Regions from separate parts of the Homo sapiens genome. Here all the other regions are linked to region 2. The links are contacts of gene promoters, found by promoter capture Hi-C in blood cells and fetal thymus (Javierre and others, 2016). All regions are on one chromosome and are shown on one strand. Each heading gives the region's core, a stretch centred on a gene start or on the middle of the fragment in contact. The rest is flanking DNA. Distances are from core to core; before and after follow the strand shown.

Region 1 (4,138 bases), core at 1,279-3,778, 540 kb before region 2:
AAGATTGGCATTGAAGAGGAGAAGAAACGAAGTTAAAATTGAGTTCAAGGGTTTGCACTTGGAGGACTGGAAAACCAGTACTGCCTTTTGACGTCAGGGAAGAGGATCTGGGACAGCTGGAGTTGGATATGTTTGATGTCAGACCTATCAGCGGTCAACAGGACGTCCCCGTTTCCTGTCAGCAGCTAAAAGTAACGACCTTGAACCTAGTTTATAATAATTTTTCAGAAAACAGCAAATTCTGTATAAAATTTAGGGGGCATGAGTTCTGAACCAGCAAAGACAGGAAGAAAAAGCAAAGGAAACATGCCTTCTAAGCAAAACACTTTTGATTTACTCATGAGAACTTGTCTTTTTCTTTTGAATTCATTCGCCATCAGAAATAACATTTATTACCCATCAGAGACAGCATGTGTTCTACAAGTATTCATTCATTTTGCACTCACAGTAACCCTAGGAAACAGACCTTCCCTGTTTTACAGAGAAGGGGCATAGAGGCCCAGAGAGGTTAAGTCATGTTGCTAAGGTCATGCAGCTGGGAGCCGGTAAGTGACCCTAGGTGTTCCAGCTGCAAGGACCCCACTTATAACCACTGCATTAAGTGCCCTCTGTTTACTACCTTTTACTGCAGCCTGCAGTCTGTTGTCAAATATGGTGCTTTTCCTTCAGTTCCCTCCCAACAATACAGCACTGTGAGCCCCCAGCCTGCTCCCCAGAAGCACTTCTGACTCTACTCTATGCCATCTGTGTTTCTGACTATTTCTGGGCTTCTGGGCCCCAGCACTGCCTGTTTCAGCTGCTACAGGATCTCTGTATGGAGATTCTTCTCTATCTTCACCCGCACGTGACACGGGCCCCACGACTTCCCCATGCCCTGTGGTTGAGGGAAACCCCAAGCTCAGTAGGCCTTTTTTGGCCTGTGCCTTCAACACTCCTCCTTCAAAAAACCCCACCCCAGCCTCTGTCACACATCAGAGCTGTCTCTGAAGCTGTAGTCTGTGCCTGGAATGCTCTTACCCTTCTCACGAATTCTCTCCCTTTTTGGTACTCAGGCAGCTTCTGAAACTCCTATTGGTCCATCCATGGGACTTTCCTCAGCAACTACAGGAGGAGAGCAGTTCTCTACTTTGCTGGTTCAGCACAGCCTGAATCCAACCTGGCTGAGGTCAAGGCTCTCCATTTACTGGCTGTATAAGCACGGGCAGGTTTCTAAGCTTCAATATCCTTGTCACTTGTATGGGATGTTCATAGTTAAAATCGAAGGATTGTCGTGAGGATTAGATAAGGTGATTCATTAAATGCTCCTAGCTGGGCACAAAGTAAGTATTCCGTTAATATCAAACCATCGTTGTTACCTAAATGTACAGTTTTCGTGATTCTTATTATGTCAATATTTACTGAGAATCTACCATGAGCCAGATTCTATACTAGAAATTCAAAATGCCAAGACCGTTAAGGCACAGTCCTTTCTTTGAGAAGCTCACAATCTATCAGGGAGACAAACACAACAATAACAGTGCGATGCTTTAAGAAATACACAAACCAACAAGAGATATCGCTTGTTGAATGCTGCTTCTGCTAGATGCTTAATGTAGCATTCAATTTAATACTAATAACTGCACAAGCTAGTAGCCCTATGTAGTGAAAACAAGGTTTGCAATGATTAGATAACTTGCCCAGTTTTACACAGGTAGTGAAAGAGCTAGGATTTGAATCCAGTTTGTCCGACACCAAAGCTATTATTCTTTCTGCCGCGCCATCCTGCCCATCTATGGAAGGAAAGGTTTCTCCCTTTATTTCCACCCACAAGATCTATTTGCTCCATTGTTTATACATAATGCTCACGATCTATCTGTGCATGCTTGTGCTCCTTTATTTCATCAGTATCTCTTGGCCTGAGTAAGTCCAGTATATACGGTAAATTCTCTGTCATTTACTATTTATAGCCCTGCACTCGCCTCACATTGCCCAGTCCTTGTAGGACGTAATATTGATGCTGTGTCTCCTACTAGGACAGTGTGTCCCTGTCACTCCTTTAGAATTAGTAGTTCCAAACACATTCATCATCGAATACTTACTTTTATATTGTGCTCTGGACATTTTCTAAGTGTATATAATAATTCGGTCTTTTTCTCTAGTCATTTCGTATGTTTTTCGGGGATAAGAGCTCATTGGGGGCAAGGCCCATGTGCTTTATTTGTTTTCCTGACTTCGCAGAGCCTAGCCCAATGCTGCATACACATTAATAATGTGCACAGTTCTTAACCATTTAAGAACTCACTGATATGTTTAAGAATCATCTGATATCTGCAGTACCAATGGTACCCATAATTCTGTAATATACCAGCTTTAAAAAAAAATGAAACCTTGCTCTTTTGAGATTTATACTCTTTTCTTGATGGCTGTCATCCTGATGAGGCAGAAACACAAAATTTAAGAAGCAGGTCTCAGGCTGTGTGTCTATAAGAAGCCACGGTAACTTTTCTTTTTTTGTGTGTTTGATTTTTGAGATGGAGTCTCCCTCAGTCACCCAGGCTGGAGTGCGGTGGCGTGATCTCGGCTCACTGCCACCTCCACCTCCCAGTTTCAGGTGATTCTCCTGCCTCAGTCTCCTGAGTAGCTGGGATTACAGGCATGCCACCACGCCCGACTAATTTTTGTATTTCTAGTAGAGATGGGATTTCATCATGTTGGCCAGGCTGGTCTCGAAGTCCTGACCTCAGGTGATCCTCCTGCCTCAGCCTCCCAAAGTGCTGGGATTACAGTTGTGAGCCACCACACCCGGCCCCAAGGTAACTCTTCTCTCTGACGATTCAGACAAAAGTCCAGGCAGCTGAGTGGGAAAATAGCTCAATTGGCTATTGCTCTGAAGGAGGCATTTGTTCTAATCTCACTCTCCTGTGAGGATTGGTAACTGACCATGTATGGCCATGGAGCTTTCTTTTATTTTCCAGATGTCATATAGATGTGAATGTATTAGTGTTCCAATTCCAGGGAATTCGCCTAATTCATGAATTTTTTTTTTAATTTTATTTGAGACGGAGTCTCGCTCTGTTGCCCAGCGTGGAGTGCACTGGCGCGATCTCGGCTCACTGCAAACTCCGCCTCCTGGGTTCACGCCATTCTCCTGCCTCAGCCTACCGAGTAGCTGGGACTACAGGCGCCCGCCACCACGCCCGGCCAATTTTTTTTTTTTTTTTTTTTTTTTTTTTTTGTATTTTTAGTAGAGACGGGGTTTCACCATGTTAGCCAGGATGGTCTTGATATCCTGACCTCGTGATCCGCCCACCTCGGCCTCCCAAAGTGCTGCAATTACAGTCGTGAGCCACCGAGCCCGGCCAATTCATGAGTATTTTAAACAACCCACACTCAATTGTGATCTCAGATAAAAATGACACCCTTGGCCGGGGGCGGTGGCTCAAGCCTGTAATCCCAGCACTTTGGGAGGCCGAGGCGGGCGGATCACGAGGTCATGTGATCGAGATCATCCTGGCTAACACGGTGAAACCCCGCCTCTACTAAAAAAATACAAAAAATTAGCCAGGCGTGGTGGCGGGCGCCTGTAGTCCCAGCTACTCGGGAGGCTGAGGCAGGAGAATGGCATGAACCCGGGAGGCGGAGCTTGCAGTGAGCCTAGATCGCGCCACTGAACTCCAACCTGGGCGACAGAGCGAGACTCTGTCTCAAAAAACAAAACAAAACAAAACAAAACAAAAAAACACTCTGACAAAGGATGAGAGTGAAGCAGGATTTGGTGTTCACTTTATTCTGTTTTCAAAGGCGATTAGGATAAAAAGTACCTTGGGAAAACACAATTATGTCCACCTATGTTTGGGAAGATGCCAAGCTTTTCAGGGTAAAGTTTAATTCCTATAGTTCTACATCCTGTTTTCCCATGAACGTTTTCCTGGTTCATTATCATCAGACCTCCAGCATTCACTGCTGGGGTTCCACTTGCCTTTTGTTGTTATTTTAATTTTTAATCTTGATTTATGTAATTTTCAACCTTACATAAAAATTGCAAAAATAATACAAAACGATTCCATATACCCTTATATTCCCATATCCCATATACTCAGATTTTCCTTAATATTAACATTTTGCCATGTTTGCTTTCTCTCTGTCTTTCTCTCTCTCT
Region 2 (4,244 bases), core at 109-2,608:
ACCTGTGAATCAACCACTCCAGACACTTCTGTGCTGGCTTAAGCAGGAAGTAAGGCGACAAGTGAATAAGGAATAATGAAATGTTTTCATCCAACTGTTTGTTTACTGCTTTGGTCTGAACACTTCGCTCCAAGGTTTTTGCTAGCTGACTGAACAACGGTGCTTCAAACTGCTCAAAGGAAGGATCAATTCCAAGCAACTCTTCCAGGCCAGTACATCCTAAATTTCAAAAAAGGCCAGTTTATTTAACAATTCTTCGTAAGCAAATTCATCCCACCCCTCTTTTACAGTTTTACTTACCCCTAAGAAGTTTCTGAATTCTTTAAGTACATATAATTTATAATACAGTCCCAAACACTGATTTCTAGTTTTCAACTTTTAGAGTAAATCCTATCTCATCTACTAGAACAGAAAGTACTTCGTGGCAGGGAACACTTTTTTTTTTTTTTTTTTGGATATCCCCTACAATAACTAGGCCAGTCCTCTGAGAGGACTTCTCCGTCACCCCAGTCACTGCCTCCATCCCCCTTTTAGCTGTTCTTCTCTTTGACATATTAGTTGACCTCTCTAATTTTGTTTCTTCATCTGTGAAATCCAGATACCTCTACTCATAAACATTTCAAGCACCAAGCACCTGACTGTTATGTTCTCTTTCCCTTAAAAATATACATCAACATGCTAGAAACTGCTAAGGAAGAGGACGGGACAGAAGAGAAAACAAGGGGAAAAAAAAAAAACAGTAACATCCAGAAAACAAACGCTTCCAAGAGCTTTTCTAAGTTAAAAGATGGCTCACCAATGGCGAAGGCGGTGTCCCTGTCGATTGTGGCCGCTTCCTTAGGGTCAAATAACAAAGAAGCAACTTCATCTCTAGATAAGAGGCTGGCATCACTTTGAGGGAGGGCGAGTCGTTGCAGCTGCTGGGCTAAGGACGTCATCTTTCACGCCAGCGGAGTTTTAATGACACGGGCTAAAAAAACGTAAGCACTTTGATAAGTTTCTACGAAATTATAAGGCGCCTCGTAAACAAACAATTCTCTTCTGCACTCAGCACCGTCATGGACACACAACGCGGGTGTCCTGAGATTTGTGGACCCCGGAGATGCAAAGACGATGGCAGCAGCGTTAACAACTAATTACAGTAGCGGCGACCGCGCCAAGGCTTTCCTTCAACCCTGATTCCGCAGATATCCGGAAAACTCTTACCCTCCCTCGATATGCCGCCCCCATCCGCAGCCACATCAAGCGGCTCTGTGCCGCTTACCTGGAACTGGGAATTTGGGTATATCTTGGAAGGCAACAACTCTTCACAGCGCTTCCCACATGGTACCAAGGAGCCCAACCCTCACCCGGAAACCTAAGGCATGCTGTAGAGCAACTTCCTGCTGCAGGCGCTACGGCAAGTGAAGAGGTTCAAGCTTGCCGGGAATGCGACGAGACAGCTCCGCCTCCCGAGACGAAAGCCCGCCCCTCAGCCCGCCGGACTCAGGCTCAAGTCTGAGCTTCGCCTCTGTAGCTCCGGTTTAGCGGTCTGCTCTGCGGCTTGTGTCTGAAGCTTTCGGTCTCTGGATGGGCCTTCTGTGGGCTTTAAGGATCCGTAGCCAGAATCATTCATTCAGTAGTGATCCAGCCTTTACTAGGTGCCAGCAGCACCGCGTAGTGTTGAAAGCTATGGGTTGTGAAGTCACGTGGTTTGGGTTCAAATCCTGGCGCTGGCGCCTGTCGGCCGGGTTAACGCCACCAAATTATTTCATCTCTCCGAGCTTGTTACTCACTCTACAAAGTGGGAAGAGGCCGAGATTGTCGTGAAAGGAGCTTCTGCTCCTAGTGCAAACCGATCTATAAATGCTGGACTCCACCGCCCCAGAGCTTGGGGGAGATCTTGTCACTCCTCTATGTTTCCATTCCCGAGGGGTAAATGGCATATATTTTTTTCTTTCAAAACGAATCATAGTCAGGCGCGGCCTGTAATCCGAGCACTTTGGGAAGCTCAGGCGAGCTGATCACCTGAGGTCAGGAGTTCGGGACCAGCCTGGCCAACATAGCGAAACCCCGTCTCTACTAAAAATAAAAGAATTAGCCGGACGTGGTGGCGGGCGCCTGTAATCCCAGCTACTAGGAAAGCTGAGACAGAAGAATCGCTGGAACCCGGGAGTCGGAGGTTGCAGTGGGCCAAGATTGCACCACTGCACTCCACAGAGCGAGACTGTCTCAATAAATAAATTAATCGAATCCTGTTGAGGTATAATTTACAAACAATGGTTACACCCACGTCAGTGGAAGAGTTTGATGACTTTTAGCAAATGCATGTATAGGTGTAATGACCTCCCCAGTCAAAATGACAGTTTCCATCGCCCCTAAAAATTGTCTCTTGCCTGTTTGCGAAGATTCCCGCAACCACTGGTCTTGGCCTCACTACAGATAGTGTTGCGGAAGAGTATCCTTATGTATGAATATAGCTAATCTGTTTCCAAAACACCGGTATGCGCTAGAACTAGGATGAACTGACGTCTTCCAGACGAAGGAGTGAGATCTGATGCTCTGTCTTTTCTGGATGCATTAATTTCTCTGAAGAGCTCTGCGGGGCCAGGGGGTCAAGTCTTTCTGTAACCGTCTTCCCTGGAGAATGTCAGAAACACAGCTACAAATTTGGAGGCCCTGGTTGTCTATACCTCATGCAGATTCTCTCCCATTTACAAACAGAATCTTTTGTTGTTGGTTTGCTTTAAAAGCATTTAAAACAACCAAATATTTTCTTCAGTTATTAGTATTTCTACTGACTGTTAATAATCTTCTTTTCATGTGGTGTTGAGTGCCTTGCAGAGAATAACATGAAAATTCTAGTAGTACCTATTTCATTCTTACAAACATATCTCTCAAAGGAATTTTTTTTTTCTTTCTAACATGTCACAGGAGTTTTACCTTTACAGAAGCAATCAGCTTTCGGTACTTTAAAAGAAATGAACACCAGGTCTGTTTCATTGATAAGATAATTTGCTTTTTTTGCTTAAAAAATACCCTATATATTTTTTAAAAGCTTTATTTAAGTGAAACTTGAAAAAGTGCTACAAAGATTTGACTCAGTCCTTCCTATGTCAGCTGTGATGGTGTATAGTGCCATGCCGAATTTTACTTTGGAAAGTAAAAAGGAAAACAAGTCAGATGTTCATAAATGTAATTTTTTTTTAAAAAAAAGCTTTGGTTTTAAAAAAAATGTAATAATCTTGAATTATATATTTTTATCTGACGGACAGATGTACCAAGCTGGTATTTTCTTCATAGCCATTATCACTACTTGAAATGACCTGATTTGTCTGTTTGTTTACCTGTTTATTTCTTGTATTCCCTCACTATAATATTGGCTTCAGCACGTTGGCATAAAGCCCATCCCTAAGACTTATGGAGCCTGAGAAAGAGTACAGATGGACTCACTGCTGTAGGTGTAAATATTTAAAAGTTATAAATTAACTTAACACATTATTAACTAGGATATGCTATAACTCTCAATATTGGTGAGTAAACATTTATAATGGCAAAATAAAAATGTTTTTACATAGATGAAAATCAGCAAAATCTGATTGCATTTAATTATATCATTCCTGTCCGGGTGTCCTATTGATTGGCTGATTATTTTGGATGAGTGATAAAGACATCTATAGTTAATACATTTCCTATATATTTAGCCCATGAAAATTTACCTTCATTTCAGCAAAATTACCATGTATGCTGTTTGATCAAGATTTTCATGTAATTGTGTTCTATCAGAAATAATGATCAAAAAGGATTAAAAATAAAATTTAATTATATTCCAAACATATAGTTTGAATGTTTCAATAAAAATATAAATTAAATTAAAAAGCAATACATTAAATCTTTTTCACTTTTTTCAAAAGATTTACCTTTCTTATAAGATGTAAAGTATAATTAGTGACAATATTTTTTTTTTGTTTTGAGATGGAGTCTTGCTCTGTCGCCCAGGCTCGAGTGTGGTGGCGTGATCTCAGCTCACTGCAACCTCCGCCTCCCAGGTTCAAGCAATCCTCTGCCTCAGCTTCTCAAGTAGCTGGGATTACAGGTGCCTGCCACCACACCCAGCTAATTTTTGTATTTTTAGTAGAGACGGGGTTTAATTAGTGACAAAATTTTAAGTAAAATAATTTAAATAAATCTAAAGTTGTATTTGTTTTTTTGGTAAATATTACTTAATGAAATTGTTCATTAAAGTAAATTACTCACAAGCGTAT
Region 3 (3,855 bases), core at 487-2,986, 960 kb after region 2:
CATATGCCACCAGGCCCTGATGATTTTTGTATTTTTTGTAGAGATGGGATTTCACCATGTTGGCCAGACTGGTCTCGAATTCCTGACCTCAAGTGATTTGCCTGCCTCAGCCTCCCACAGTGTTGGGATAACAGGTGTGAGCCACCGCGACCCGCCAAGAACTAGTTTCTTAATAGCACAAACTACCTTTAAATATCATAAAATCTGATAGAATTTTTTTCTCTCAAAACAACGTTTACGATCCTATTTTTCAAAATATATTTACTTACCAAGTAATAGGCATGAGAATTTACCCTTAACCATAGAAATGTTTCTCTGATTCAGAGACTTAAGCTAGTTTCTGAAGGGTTAGCCAGCAGATTCAGTTAGTTCTACATTCAGTAAGCACTACCACCATTATCAAAAAAGCAGTTATTGATCGTTTCATTAATTAAGCCCATGTGATAGGGAGCCATCTCATGCTACAGCCATGGTGTCTCCACTGCTTTACTTCATCTCATTTTAAATTGTTACATATGACCTAGCTGTATGTTTATTGGCAACCTTTAGTGCTTATATAGATTATTTTTATAGTTCTAATTTGATCATACCAAGTCATTGATTGAACTGTTATTAAATTTTTATTATGCATAAAGTCTTTCCCAAATCTTAAGGAGAAACAAATAGGAACTTCCTTCTTCTCTTTTCTTTTCTTTCTTTCTTTTTCTTTCTTTCTTTCTTTCTTTCTTTTTCTTTCTTTCTTTCTCTTTCTTTCTTTCTTTCTTTCTTTCTTTCTTTCTTTCTTTCTTTCTTTCTTTCTTTCTTTCTTTCTTTTGTCTTTCTTTCTTTCTCTCTCTCTCTTTCTTTCTCTTTGTTTGTTTGTTTTGTTTTGAGACAGGATCTCACTCTATCACCCAGGCTGGAATGCAGTAGAACGACCATAGCTCACTGCAACCTCGACCTTCTAGGCTCAAGTGATCCTTCTGTATCAGCCTCTTGAGAAGCTTGGACTTACAGGCATGCACTACCATGTCTGGCTGAATTTTTAAACTCTTTGTAGAGACAGGGTACCACTATGTTGCCCGGGCGCGATCCTCCCGCCTTGGCCTTCCAAAGTGTTGAGACTACAGCTGTGAGCCACCACACCTGGCTGAAAACTAGCATTTAACCAGTAACTAGTAACTCTGTGCGAGCTATTGGAGGCAAAGTAGGAAGAAGAGGGGCTATAACATGAAGCAGCTCCCAAGTTCCACCATTTTTAGTTGTGCGATGTTGGTCAAGTCTGAAATTTCCTCCTCTGCATCTAACTCAGATGTTAGCTGGGTGACCACCTTCTTTGAGATATCAATTCAATGAACACTCATTCCTCTCCTCTGTGGTTTCAGAAGGACTTACCTTCTCATCGTCGTTCTGGCTCTGGGTTCCTCATTCTGAGACTTCCCCCTCTCGTCTCTCTCAATCTCACCTGCATCTCATTTCCTAGGGATACTTTTCCCCCTTTTGCATCACACTGGTCCTAATGTTGGATGCTGACCTTTTTATTTTTCCCCCAGATCTTTTAAATACAGCATTTGTATGTATAGCAGATCACAGTGAAGATGTATGCGAGAATGGAAAAATTTTGCATCACATTTGAGTTCCTTAGCCATCACCATCCTGTAGGGAAATTTTTACTATTGATGCTATTGTTACTTTTCTCCACTGTTTACAACTTTCCCTTATTTCTGTTTCTCTTCTCTTCCTTGCTTCGTCTTCCCTCTTCTCTCTCACCCGTACATGTCTACTCATTTCTTATGCAGAGCAGTTCGGATCTTTTTTCTTATTGACTTCTTTCCATCTCATCCTCCACAACCAAAGCACCAAGGCACTTGGGTTTTGTTCTACAGAAAGGTCGTTCCCTCCTGAAAATGAGGCTGACGGAGACTCATTCCCCAGTCTCTCCAGCGCAAGCCCTGGTGCTTTCCACTTCACCCAGCTGGTCTGACAGTGGCTGATCCTAGATCAGAAAGCACTTGGTAAAATGGGAAAGAAGATAAGAAGGTATCATTATCATCATCGCTCTAGGTTGAATTACTAAAGTCGTGATTTATCTTTCCTTCTTTTATTTATGATATCTTTCCTTCTCTTTCACCTCCCCATCCAATGACCACCAGAAATCTCTGTCCATTTCCCAGCAGCCAGAGCCGAAGTGTGCAGCGGCACCGGGGAAAGGTTCCGAATCTTCCGTGCCGAGAAGACCTATGCAGTGAAGGCCGGACGGTGGTATTTTGAATTTGAGACGGTCACTGCTGGAGACATGAGGGTTGGTTGGAGTCGTCCTGGTTGTCAACCGGATCAGGAGCTTGGCTCAGATGAACGTGCCTTTGCCTTTGATGGCTTCAAGGTGAGTGGACTTTGTCCTGTGCCAGTCATCTGTACGTGCTGGAGGCTCATCTCCTCTGCTGTTCCTCTTGGTAGCTTCACAGTACCAGTGTTTCCCACAGCACAAACGTGGAAAAATATTTCACAGGAAAGCTTTTGTCCTCGTAGTCTCAAAACCCTTCCCTACAACCCATGAATGCAGTGAAATTCACCAAGTAAGACATTGCTTTTCCATGGTTATCAAAAAGATAAATCATCTTTGTCTATCAAAATGTTAAAGATACATATGTAGAGGAAAAATGCATATACATTGACGCAGCGATTCCGTATCAGGAGTTTATCTTTAAGCTATAATTAGTGGTTTGTATGAACATTTAATAGCTACAATGCTTAATGTAGTGTTGTTTATAATCACAAACGGTTTTCATTTTCAACATTATTGGTAATTTCTATTAAGTTGGATGGAAGCTGGTCAGGTGTTTATTTTGTTATTTATATACTAATAAATGTTTAAAGATTCTTTTACATGTGTAAAATATTTTGATCAGTAATATGGGCGAGGTGCCTGTAATCCCAGCACTTTGAGAGGCTGAGATGGAGGGATCACTTGGGGCTAGGAGTGCAAGACCAGCCTGGGCAACAAAGTAAGATCCTGTCTCTACAAAAAAAAAAAAAAAAAAATTAAAATTAGCCAAGCATGGTGGTGTGCACTTGTGGTCCCAGCTACATACGAGGCTGAGGTGAGAGGATTGCTTGAGCTCGGGAGGTCGAGGCTGCAATGAGCCATGATCACACCACTGCACTCCAGCCTGGGCAACAGAGTGAGACCTTGTCTCAAAACAAACAAAAAAATAATAATAACAACAAGGTATATATGCTTATAGCCACAATAGGATAATAATAGTCACTTTTGATTGGTAAAATCATAGATTTTTTTAAAGTCTTCTTTTTTTTTTATTTTTTAAGTGAATTTATTTTCCTTTTCACATGAGGGGGAAAAAGCTACTTTTTAACCAAGAAAAATAAAATTAGAATAAATAAGCAATCATGAAGAGATTTGACGTTTGGATATTTCTTGGAGTGAAATGTCCTGTGTAGGAAAGCATTTCTAGGCTTGAAATTAGGGCAGTTGACCCACTTAGTTTTGAAACATCACATTTCCTGAATCCAGTTTTTTAAAAATTTCAAATAGAAAAATTTAACACTTTTTTGGGGGGTTGGGGGGCGGTCAAAATTAGCAAACTTTAAACTTCAAAAAATAAAATAACAGATAAAAGGCAGCTTTAGGTTTATACCTCCTGAAGATCAGATGTAATGAACCAGAGTGGGAAGTAACCTGAGGAAGTTAAAATAACCTTTACTCCCAGTCAAATGATAGGCAAGAAAGGATACTCCCGATTTGGGAACAGGCATGGGGTGGGTGGGGTAGGAAGGAGAACACCACAGCCAGGTAAGTCGGTTGGGCATTTTATGCCTTTTGATACCTGATGTAAACTTTTTTAAAAAGACAGTGTG

What was found. The method cuts DNA at HindIII sites, captures the fragments that hold promoters and counts their contacts. A CHiCAGO score of 5 or more calls a contact.
Region 1: a fragment that was not itself captured here is called in contact with the fragment with the promoter of HEATR1 in region 2 in 2 of 17 cell types (total B cells and megakaryocytes); the score reaches 5.8 in total B cells.
Region 3: a contact is called between a fragment that was not itself captured here and the fragment with the promoter of HEATR1 in region 2, in 3 of 17 cell types (M0 macrophages, M2 macrophages and M1 macrophages). The highest score is 8.6, in M0 macrophages.

Annotation. Positions count from the first base shown.
Region 1 is chr1:236,066,138-236,070,275 of GRCh38, forward strand. No RefSeq gene overlaps it. Among named protein-coding and RNA genes, the nearest start is that of NID1, 3.1 kb to the left of the region's middle. The HindIII fragment of the contact is 2,633 bases long and covers 1,213-3,845 here.
Region 2 is chr1:236,603,158-236,607,401 of GRCh38, forward strand. HEATR1 (HEAT repeat containing 1) reads right to left here and starts at 1,359. Exons shown (of 45, transcript NM_018072.6): 1 at 1,265-1,359; 2 at 797-970; 3 at 3-219. The coding sequence starts at 938. RefSeq lists an enhancer at 1,300-1,559. The HindIII fragment of the contact is 2,349 bases long and covers 1-1,416 here.
Region 3 is chr1:237,564,414-237,568,268 of GRCh38, forward strand. RYR2 (ryanodine receptor 2) reads left to right here. Exons shown (of 105, transcript NM_001035.3): 28 at 2,154-2,362. Among named protein-coding and RNA genes, the nearest start is that of MIR4428, 95 kb to the left of the region's middle. The HindIII fragment of the contact is 1,510 bases long and covers 982-2,491 here.